Regions from separate parts of the Homo sapiens genome. Here region 2 is linked to region 1. The links are contacts of gene promoters, found by promoter capture Hi-C in blood cells and fetal thymus (Javierre and others, 2016). All regions are on one chromosome and are shown on one strand. Each heading gives the region's core, a stretch centred on a gene start or on the middle of the fragment in contact. The rest is flanking DNA. Distances are from core to core; before and after follow the strand shown. Region 1 holds the start of HACE1 (HECT domain and ankyrin repeat containing E3 ubiquitin protein ligase 1). Region 2 holds the start of TUBE1 (tubulin epsilon 1).

Region 1 (4,642 bases), core at 1,405-3,904:
AAGACTCATCAGAGCTTAGAGACAAAGATAAATTAAATTCAAGGAACAAAATGAACATTATAATCAAAGAAAAGCAAATGCAAACGATGCCATTTTTGCCTATGTGGAAAAGTTTTACTTTTACTAATAATACTCTAGTTTCTGGGCACTCTCGGACTGCTGGTGGAACTTTCCAAGGAGTAAGTTGAGAAACTGATATGTTGAGCCTTAGAAATGTATTGTAGATATTCTTCTTGTAAGAATTAACCCTAAGGAAGTATTTAGAGGCAGACTATGTCTTAAATACAAAGCTGTTTCTCATAAAATCAGTTTAAAAACAGTATTTAGATTCAACATTTGTTACATGCATCCTATGAAATTCTGAAGTCATTAAGCCTATTGAAGAATACAAAAAAAAAAAAACATTTGGGGCGGGGCACGGTGGCTCACGCCTGTAATCCCCCAGCACTTTGGGAGGCCGAGGCGGGCAGATCACGAGGTCAGGCGATCGAGACCATCCTAGCTAACACGGTGAAACCCCGTCTCTACTAAAAATACAAAAAATTAGCCGGGCCTGGTGGCAGGGGCCTGTAGTCCCAACTACTGGGAAGGCTGAGGCAGGAGAATAGCGTGAACCCCGGAGGCAGAGCTTGCAGTGAGTCGAGATGGCGCCACTGCACTCCAGCCTGGGCGACAGAGTGAGACTCCGTCTCAAAAAAAAAAAAAAAAAAGGATGTTTTCTAAACACAAAATAAAAGACTATATGCAACATGATTTTAACTTGTTAGGGAGGGAAAAAGAAATAACAATGGTAACACTGTTTATAACTGGATGGTGAAATGACATATTTTTTTCTATTTTTCTTTATTTTCCAAATTTTCTACAATGAAACTATATTACTTTTAAAACCAAGTAACATTATCAAAGTCTTCTAAATCACATTTATGTAAAAAATATCGGGATTCAAACTAGACAATATAAATTATACATGTAGTCTTCATAAAGCTATACCAATAATTCGACTACGAAAAATAAGTAAGAGTAGCACTTAAGAAATGGATTCAAAGGTGGAAGTTGGAAAGAAAATATAGAAAAAGTTGAAGCTAGAATCTAGTTACCAAAATCTGAATTCTAAATAGAGACTAGAGACCATTTTTTCAAGAAGATTATCCCCAGGCCAGGCGCGGTGGCTCACATCTGTAATCCCAACACTTTGGGGGGAGCAGGGTGCGGATCACTTGAGCCCAGGAGTTCAAGACCAGCCTGGGGAACATAGTGAGACCTCATCTCTATAAAAGAAAGGAAAGAAAATTATCGCCAAAGTACCCAATCCCACATTTCTTTCATGACCGTCTGCCAAGGTCTCCTTCCCTATCCTACAAACCACCCAGCAGCAATTCAAAGAGAGTTTTGAAAAAGTAAGATAAACTACTACAATTAAGAAAAAAGCTATTCACCAGCTACAACCTCCTCCCAACCCTTCTCTCACTTGGGCATAAAGAGCCAAAAGCTTCTTAGAAGCAGCACTGCTGTCTCCCATCACCACTAAAATGTCTGAATTCCTGACGCTGCAAACAAAACTGCTTATTTTCTCTCCTTGTTATTAGCAGAGTTTTACCTGTCCTGAGGGAACCCTGGCACGCTGAACTAAAAGTCCTGATCCTCAGGGACCATGCCTTATTCCTCTTTGCAGATGCGTCCTAGTTACCAGCTAGCCCACTCAATACTAGTCTGATGAATAAATGAAGAATGAAGGCAGGCATGCATATTAAAGAAAAATATATTGTGTTTACCCATACAGTACTTTAAGAGTACCTGTTTGATGTTTGACAACCCTTTGTTTGCCTGTTATCAAAACAAGGCAGTGCCCCACATTTTAAAAAATAACAAAAATAAAAGCCCGCCTGGCCCCCCGATGCAGCTTAAAGTAAACAGTATCTTTGGATCATCTCTATCCCCAGCTACTGTTAAATGACCCGCAATTATGATGTTTTCTGACTCCGGGTCTCGGGCCTCCGGCTGGTATTCCTGCCCCTTTGCCAAGACCCCTAATCGACAGACGTTGCGAGACCTTTGTCTCGCTCCTCCCAGCAGCGGAACCCCCACCAACCCAGTTTCCTCCCGAAAACTCCCACCTGCCGGGGTGGGAGCGTCGGGCCAGGGGAGTTCGGGGCCCGGGGCCGCCTCTCAGCTCTGGAAAGTAAAAGTGGGCGTTTTCTCAGCTTTCAGTTAGTTTTTCCACCCGACCTTGACGCGGCCGGAGCTCCTGCCCCACTGGCCGCCCCCAGCCCCGCGGCCAGCCTGGCCCCGCGACCCGGCTCACCCTCGGGCAACTCCACGGTGCGCGCGCGGCGCAGCGAGCGCGTCAGGCGGTTGAGTTGCTCCATCGCTCTCTCCATCCTCGGCGCGCCCTCCGCGATCCTCCGCGATCAGCCGCCCCACCGGCGGCCTCCGCGCCCAGAGCCCTACATCTCGCCTGGGCCCGTCCAGCAGGCGGAGACGCGGGCTTGCCCCGGCTAGAGCACTGAGCTGCGAGGGCTGCCTGGGGCCACGTCCTGCGTCCGGGGGCCGGGCTGCTGCCGGACCGACCACCTACAGTACACCCGCCGCCGCCTCTGCTCGCGCCTTTCCTGCAGCCCCCGCCGCCGCGTCCCTCCCGGGCTCGCGTGGCCTTCTGGGAACTGTAGTTTCCAGCTGGCAGAACGGAGCGCCCTGGGCGGAGTCACGTTGGGGGCGCCCAGGCCACGCCAACGCGGGCGCAGGGCTGAGTATGCGGGAAGCCACGCAGCGACTGGGCGTACTCCTAAGCTTCTGGAAAGGCATTCTCACGCCCTGCTCCTCCTACCCTCCTCCAAAGTTGTACAGGAGCAGTTTCCTCCAATTCTATAACTTTACTATAAAACAGATTAGAAATTGGCACAATTGTTCTTAAATCCGTCACCACCTTTCTAGTACTGTATTAGTGCCTTTGTTTCAGGTACCCTACATGAACTGTTTTAAGTATGGTATTTTCATATGTCAAACTTAAAGAGTAATAAAATCAAACAAATCCAAAAGCATATTGTGCTTTTGTCTTCATTGTAAATAACTTGACAATAGCTTAATTAGTTGTTTTTCCTGCCGGGCGGCTTTATGAGGGCAGGGACATTTAATCTTGAACTGTGTTGTATCCCTGTACTTAACAAGGCACCTAGCACAAAGTTAAAGCTCTGGGGAAGATATGAATGATGACAACCTGAAAAAATTTTTTCATTTATTTGGTACAATGCTAAAGTGTCTATGTGATGACACAGCCTAGTGGGAAATCCAAAGGATTTGACTTTGTAAGTTACAAAAAATTTGGATACCTACATTGTGGAAGAAATGAACTCAGTGGCGAAAAATCATATTCATAAGCTCTGCACAGAAGTTGAACACTTGAAACAACAGAAGTTGGAACTTCAAAAAATTAACCCAATCAAAGGGGTAAATGTGAGCCTGGCTAACACCAATATATCTTGGATATATTACCAGTGCCAAGATGATGCTGGAGTGAGGGAGAAACAAAAGGCTTGTCTTTTTCAGCTTCTCTTCCTCAAAGAGACAAAGCTGTTCCTGAAATGAATGGGCACATGTACGTTGATGATGTATGTTGGCTGGCCAAGTGAAAGAGAGTCTCACCTGCCCATTCAGGATATGAAGGGGCAGATGGTGGTTGGCATGTGTTTTCCCTGCCAGTGCCGTCCTAAATCAGTTCCAGCTAGTGACCATTTGTGCCAGTGGTGCCACAGGCACGGGGAAGACCTCTGTAATCTTCACCTAATCAGATGATACCTAAACCAGTCTGGCAACAAGGTGGTAGAGGTCAAAGTTTCAAAAGAATACCAGAGGCTGGGCGCAGTGGCTCATGCCTGTAATCCCAGCACTTTGTGAGGCCAAGGCAGGCGGATCACTTGAGGTCAGGAGTTTGAGACCAGCCTGGCCAACATGGTAAAACCCTGTCTCTACTAAAAATATGTATATACAAAAATTAGCCGGGCGTGGTGGTGTGCCTCTGAAATCCCAGCTACTCGGGAGGCTTAGGCAGGAGAATCGCTTGAACCCGAGAGACAGAGGCTGCAGTGAGCTGAGATCCTGCCATTGCACTCCAGCCTGGGTGACAGAGCGAGACCCTGTCTCAAAAAAAAAGGAAAGGAAGAAAGAAATACCAGACGTTATGGACCAGTCTAGCCCAGGCTCAACCATTTGCAACCTGGCTTCAACTAAAAATGTTCCAGTCTTGCTTGGCCTCTTATGCTATTCAAAAAGTCAGGATTCCCACTGCTGTACAGAAGTTGGCCCCTCAGCTTCTCTCAGCTGCTGTTATCACCATTGCTCTCTAGGCTGTTGCTCCATATAAATTACCTCCAACGTCCTGTGAGGACCAAGCCTGGAGTTTGTGGGCAGGGGTAGGAGCCCCCAGCAGCCTCCATGGTGGGCATTGCATCTCATGCTGGTCACTGTTCACCACAGGAGCAGAAGATAATGGAACAGGTAATGCTGATGTGAATTGTCAGTTCCAAATTCTGCAATATGATGCCGTCTCCCAATAGCTCTGCTTCAAAATGTATAAAGCTGCAGTACTACTATCAGCTTATCACCTCCTGTCCAACAGAACTTTCTGCAATGATAGAAATATTCTATA
Region 2 (4,642 bases), core at 952-3,451, 7.2 Mb after region 1:
GATAGTACACAGAAAGAAGTGCAAGATGCCACAACCCTGTTTGCCAAACTTACCGGGAAAATAATAGTGCTCTCAGGTTAAAGTATAAAACACACAGAGTAGATGAGAGTGTAGTTATGAAGAGTCACCTTATGAAGAAAGAAAAGCTCCCAGGCTGAGTCTCAACTATGTAATACTCAATGTAAGCGTTGGGTAACAAGAAGTAAAGAGGTGGGTGTAGGAACTTAGCAAGAGAAGCGCCGGAAAGGAAGTATGACAGAAGCAAATTTGAGTCTCCTAAGAGAATTTAGAGGTGAGGATATTGTGGGCTACAAATAAGAGGGAATCTATAGTCTATATGACAGATATCTCCATAAAATAAATATAAATGATACCAGCCATTAAAGTAACTAACTTCCTTTGGTCTGATTCCATGGTCACCAAGCAACCTTCAGATTATTACACAGCTTTTCAGTTAGATTTCCTACAAAAGATAAAGTAATGTGCCTATGAAAATGAGAATTTGGTCTTTGGTTAACCTGGCTGTACTGGAGAGCACTGAACCCATCTCGAGATGCCAATGACACTTCTGAGTTTGCAAGCCAGTGCCCTAGATAGACTCTGGAATTCACCCAGGAAGCGCGGACTAATCAGCTTTCTCTGAAGATAACTGCTCACACACCCAGCCAACTATTTTAAACTAGAACTGATGTTCCTATTGGATTAAAGCCTGACACGAAGTATGTATTTTTCAGTTTAAGCACAGGACAGTTAGTTTTATGAAGTATTTTGAAAATGCATGAACTTAATGATTTAATATTAAAAGCTTATGGAGATATCCTAAACGGCAACTTAAATTACTCTTCCAGATAAAACATATATGGTACTTACATATACTCTTTATTAAATAAACAAAAACAATCCAACAACTGCTTGTCACCTTTTTAAGTATATTTTTATACTTACAGCATATATGTAAACAATATATTTTTCTTTCAAAAGTTAGTTATTACAGGATGCATTAACAAGATGCCCTCTGGGAAAATTTCAGCTTTCTTTTAATGAAACTTATTTCAAGGTTAAGTTAAAAGAAGTCACACTAAAGGGAAATCTGTTGTCTTCTTCGGGAAAATGATATAAGAATATTAATAATCTAATAGAATAAATATGCTTTCAATAATGAAACAAAAAAACACAACTTCGCAGCTGGCTATTTTTATTGTCCTTTGAAGAATTCTCTCCCAAGCTACTGAAACTTAAAGTATCACACTGTGACAGACTTTAATCCCATCTTACCTGGTGTCCACATTTCTAAAGAAGCTGCTTATTGCCTCATCATAAATTCCTTTCTAAAAAGAAAAACATATGTTAATAGCATTTAGGTTTTGCTTCTCGCCCAAATCAAGTTCTTTCAATTTTAATTACATAATACTGTAATGGCTAGGATGAGACTCTGATAAGAAAAACCAAGTATCACAAAATGCGGAGCCTGACTCTTCCCAATCTCCTTAGAAGAGTAAATGCCAGATCTACAGATAAAAAGTTCAGCAGGGGGTGCTAAAGAAAGGATTTCACCCATAGGACTGTAGGACAGGTCCATCAAATGAGCGTTCTCTGGATTCTTCGTAATCTTTTTAAAAGCTGACTGGTTAAATTAAGGAATACAATAACCACACGTGTTATCTATTTTACAAAGTACTTTCCCATATACAAATCTCACTGTTCTGCACACGAACACCAATAAAGAGGAGACCCTGAGAATCAGGAAAAACGTTAAGACTAAGGTCGCTGGCCAGTGTTCTTTTAGTTTAGTGTGTGTCTGACGCAACATGTTTAAAAACCAGTACGTTCTTTACTGGGAAGATCCCATGCATCTTAAACGGGTCAGATGAAAGCTCAAGTCGATTATTTCCTGCGTATGGGCTGGAAGACCTAGCTGACAGGCGAGGGGGCTCGCGGCGGCGGGCGGGTACCTGGTTGACCGCGGCGTGCTCCCTTAGTGCCAGGTCCCAGAAGCAGCAGCCGATCTGGTTTCCGCACTGGCCGACTGCGACCGGAGGAGAGGAAGGAAAGAGAATAGGACATTAAGCAGGAAACATGGCCGCTGGATTCCGCGGCGACCAGGTCTCTACCCGCCCGGCGTAGCTTACCCTGTACGACCACCGACTGGGTCATGGTGGTGCGCCGCCGGCTCCGGGAGCTTGCTAGCCCGCGGCCGCTTCTGCATTCCCCCAGCAACGGCGCTCTGCTAGAGAGCTGCCGTAAGTCACGCTACTGCCGCAAGCCTCTGCCGTCGCTAAGCACGTCTGTAGGTTCAGGCTAAGGTTTTCCGTCAGAAGGCCGCGCAAGTGCACTTGCGTGTCACCGTTACCGTAGCGACTGGGCTTCTGGACTGTATATCCTAGCTGCCTTGTCAACATCTTCGAGCATCGGCAGCTCCGGAGGCCGGGGTAACTGGCAGGTAACTAGGCTTTGGAGTGGTATTTTAAAATATGTGTCGTTAAGCTGTTCGTGGGCTATCAGAGGTTTAATTTTTGTTCACAGCCTCAACACCCGGGGCGGTGGATCAGTCCGTTTATTCAGATTCCACGGGACGCTGCGTTGGCATCTCTGTTCAACAAGCCCTTTATTCTAATAGAAAATGAACAATGGCGTTGAGCAAAGAGAAACCCCAGAGAAATAGTCATGTCAGGGCACAATTGAAACTAGATGGTTATACGCTTTGACAAAAATGGCAAAGCTAAGGTCACAGACCCAACCAGTATTTGTTGAACGCTGTATACTCCCCAAATTAACTTGTAGGCTCGCTGGGAAGATTAGAAAGAAATTAAGGCATAGATCCAGTTCCAAGAAGCTTACAATCTAATTGAAGACATACACGCGAAATACTTAAAGAATTGTGTGGCGTTGACTATAAGTGCAATAGGATTCAGTGGTTGAGGATGTAGATGAGTATGTAGAAGTCTGATAGAAGACACGAGATTAACACTAGGCATTTAGATGGGTATTTAGATGGGATAGGCAGGAGAAGATTAAAAAGTTAGGCATTATGACAATTACCAACTACTTAAAATTGTCAAACATTAAAATATGTAAACTTCTATTGATCAAATTAGACCAGATTTTAATTAAGAACTCAAGTACTTCTTTAATGAAATTAATATTTTCCACAAAAATTCTGAAGAACTACGAAACTCTAAGAAGTCTTCTTTGTTTAATAAAAAGTTATATGGTATGTGCTATGAATATGTGCTAATATGAACTGTAATATTCAATGGATTAGAACACTTTATTGTCCCACCAAGACACGTAGTAGTTACTATTAAATTTCTCTGGTAGCCGGTAGGTTTAAAGTTGCAATGGATTTTATATCTTTTGGTAATAGGCAGCTTTCGGTCAGTAAATTTTTGTAGGCTGGATTTATTCTTAACTTCTTACTGAGTATGGGGTCAGTGGTAGAGGTAAAGTTGGGCATTTTAGGTCTTGATGCTAAAGTCCCAACGTCTGGGGCTTCCAAAATTTGCAAGTCTTGGTCCAGTTTGTAGGCAGTGATGTGAATAGGTCTGTATCAGTGTGTTATCAGTGCTAGGTGAGATGATACACTGGCCTTTGCAGAGCCCTACCCTTCATGCAGTCCCAGTCATTATTCCCCACACAGGAAAGAAAAGTCCTAACACATCTTATTAATAACTTCAGTCTCTAGAGAATCAGACTGAGAGACAGTTCTGCTTAAGAGCCAAGCAAGGTAGAGCCTCACATGCCAGCCACTCCAAAACTTCCGTATATGCAAACCCGGGTGAGCCAAGTTGAGATCGGTTGAACCGCAGCGGGCTATTCAGAATATTATAAGCAAGAGAAATGTTTTTGGTTGAAATTACTGAAATTTTGGGGTGCAGTTTTATTGTAGTGATAGCTGACCAACATACAGAGCAAATAGAGTGAACAGAATTCCACATGCTGAAAATGAAAAAGAAAAAAATTATTGGGAATCCTATGGACTCCTAAAATTGAAGGAAGGAAGACAAGGATGGAAGGGAGAGAGGGAGGGAAGGGGGAGAGGAAGGAAGGAACGATGTAAAAGATGGATAAAGTACAAGACCTTGGGGTAAAACCTAGCCTAAGAGGGGAGAAAAGAAAATTCATCATATCTACTTTGTGCTGAAGAAGAACTTAAGAATATGAATGCAATAAAACAGGAACTTAAAGACAAGATACTAAAATAATAAGACTCAAGCTCTATGAGGGCTGAGTCTTGTTGTTTTATCCACTACTAGGGATAGTACCTTGCATATAGTAGATAGTAAATAAATATTTGATGAATAAATGAAATAAAATGGAGATAAAAGAACTAAGGAAATTAACTGAAGACAACAACATCCACCTTAAAGGACTTAAAGAAATAATTTTTAAAAGCATTTAAGAAGCAGACTAGAGAGATGCACATCAAATTATAATGTAGAGGAAAGTCTTAAAATAATAACAATACTAGGCAAAACCCAGAGATATGAAAGTTATTAAAAATAATATGTATGAAGGAGACAAAGATGGCTCAACATAAGATTAACATGTGCCCACAGCAAATGGAGGAAAAAATGTACTTGATAAAAAAAAAGGAAGAAAAATACATAGATTAAAAGGATACACACTATGTTCTATAGGACAA

What was found. The method cuts DNA at HindIII sites, captures the fragments that hold promoters and counts their contacts. A CHiCAGO score of 5 or more calls a contact.
Region 2: the fragment with the promoter of TUBE1 here is called in contact with the fragment with the promoter of HACE1 in region 1 in 1 of 17 cell types (non-activated CD4 T cells); the score reaches 6.3 in non-activated CD4 T cells.

The regions. Positions count from the first base shown.
Region 1 is chr6:104,857,265-104,861,906 of GRCh38, forward strand. HACE1 (HECT domain and ankyrin repeat containing E3 ubiquitin protein ligase 1) reads right to left here and starts at 2,655. Exons shown (of 24, transcript NM_020771.4): 1 at 2,303-2,655. The coding sequence starts at 2,378. It also overlaps the pseudogene LOC100422315. RefSeq lists a silencer at 2,084-2,713 and enhancers at 2,336-2,835, 2,450-2,744. The HindIII fragment of the contact is 1,298 bases long and covers 1,488-2,785 here.
Region 2 is chr6:112,085,281-112,089,922 of GRCh38, forward strand. It overlaps TUBE1 (tubulin epsilon 1), which reads right to left and starts at 2,202. Exons shown (of 12, transcript NM_016262.5): 1 at 2,130-2,202; 2 at 1,953-2,026; 3 at 1,276-1,328. The coding sequence starts at 2,154. It overlaps FAM229B (family with sequence similarity 229 member B), which reads left to right and starts at 2,311. Exons shown (of 4, transcript NM_001033564.3): 1 at 2,311-2,440. RefSeq lists enhancers at 1,732-1,781, 1,916-2,447, 2,182-2,371. The HindIII fragment of the contact is 2,028 bases long and covers 804-2,831 here.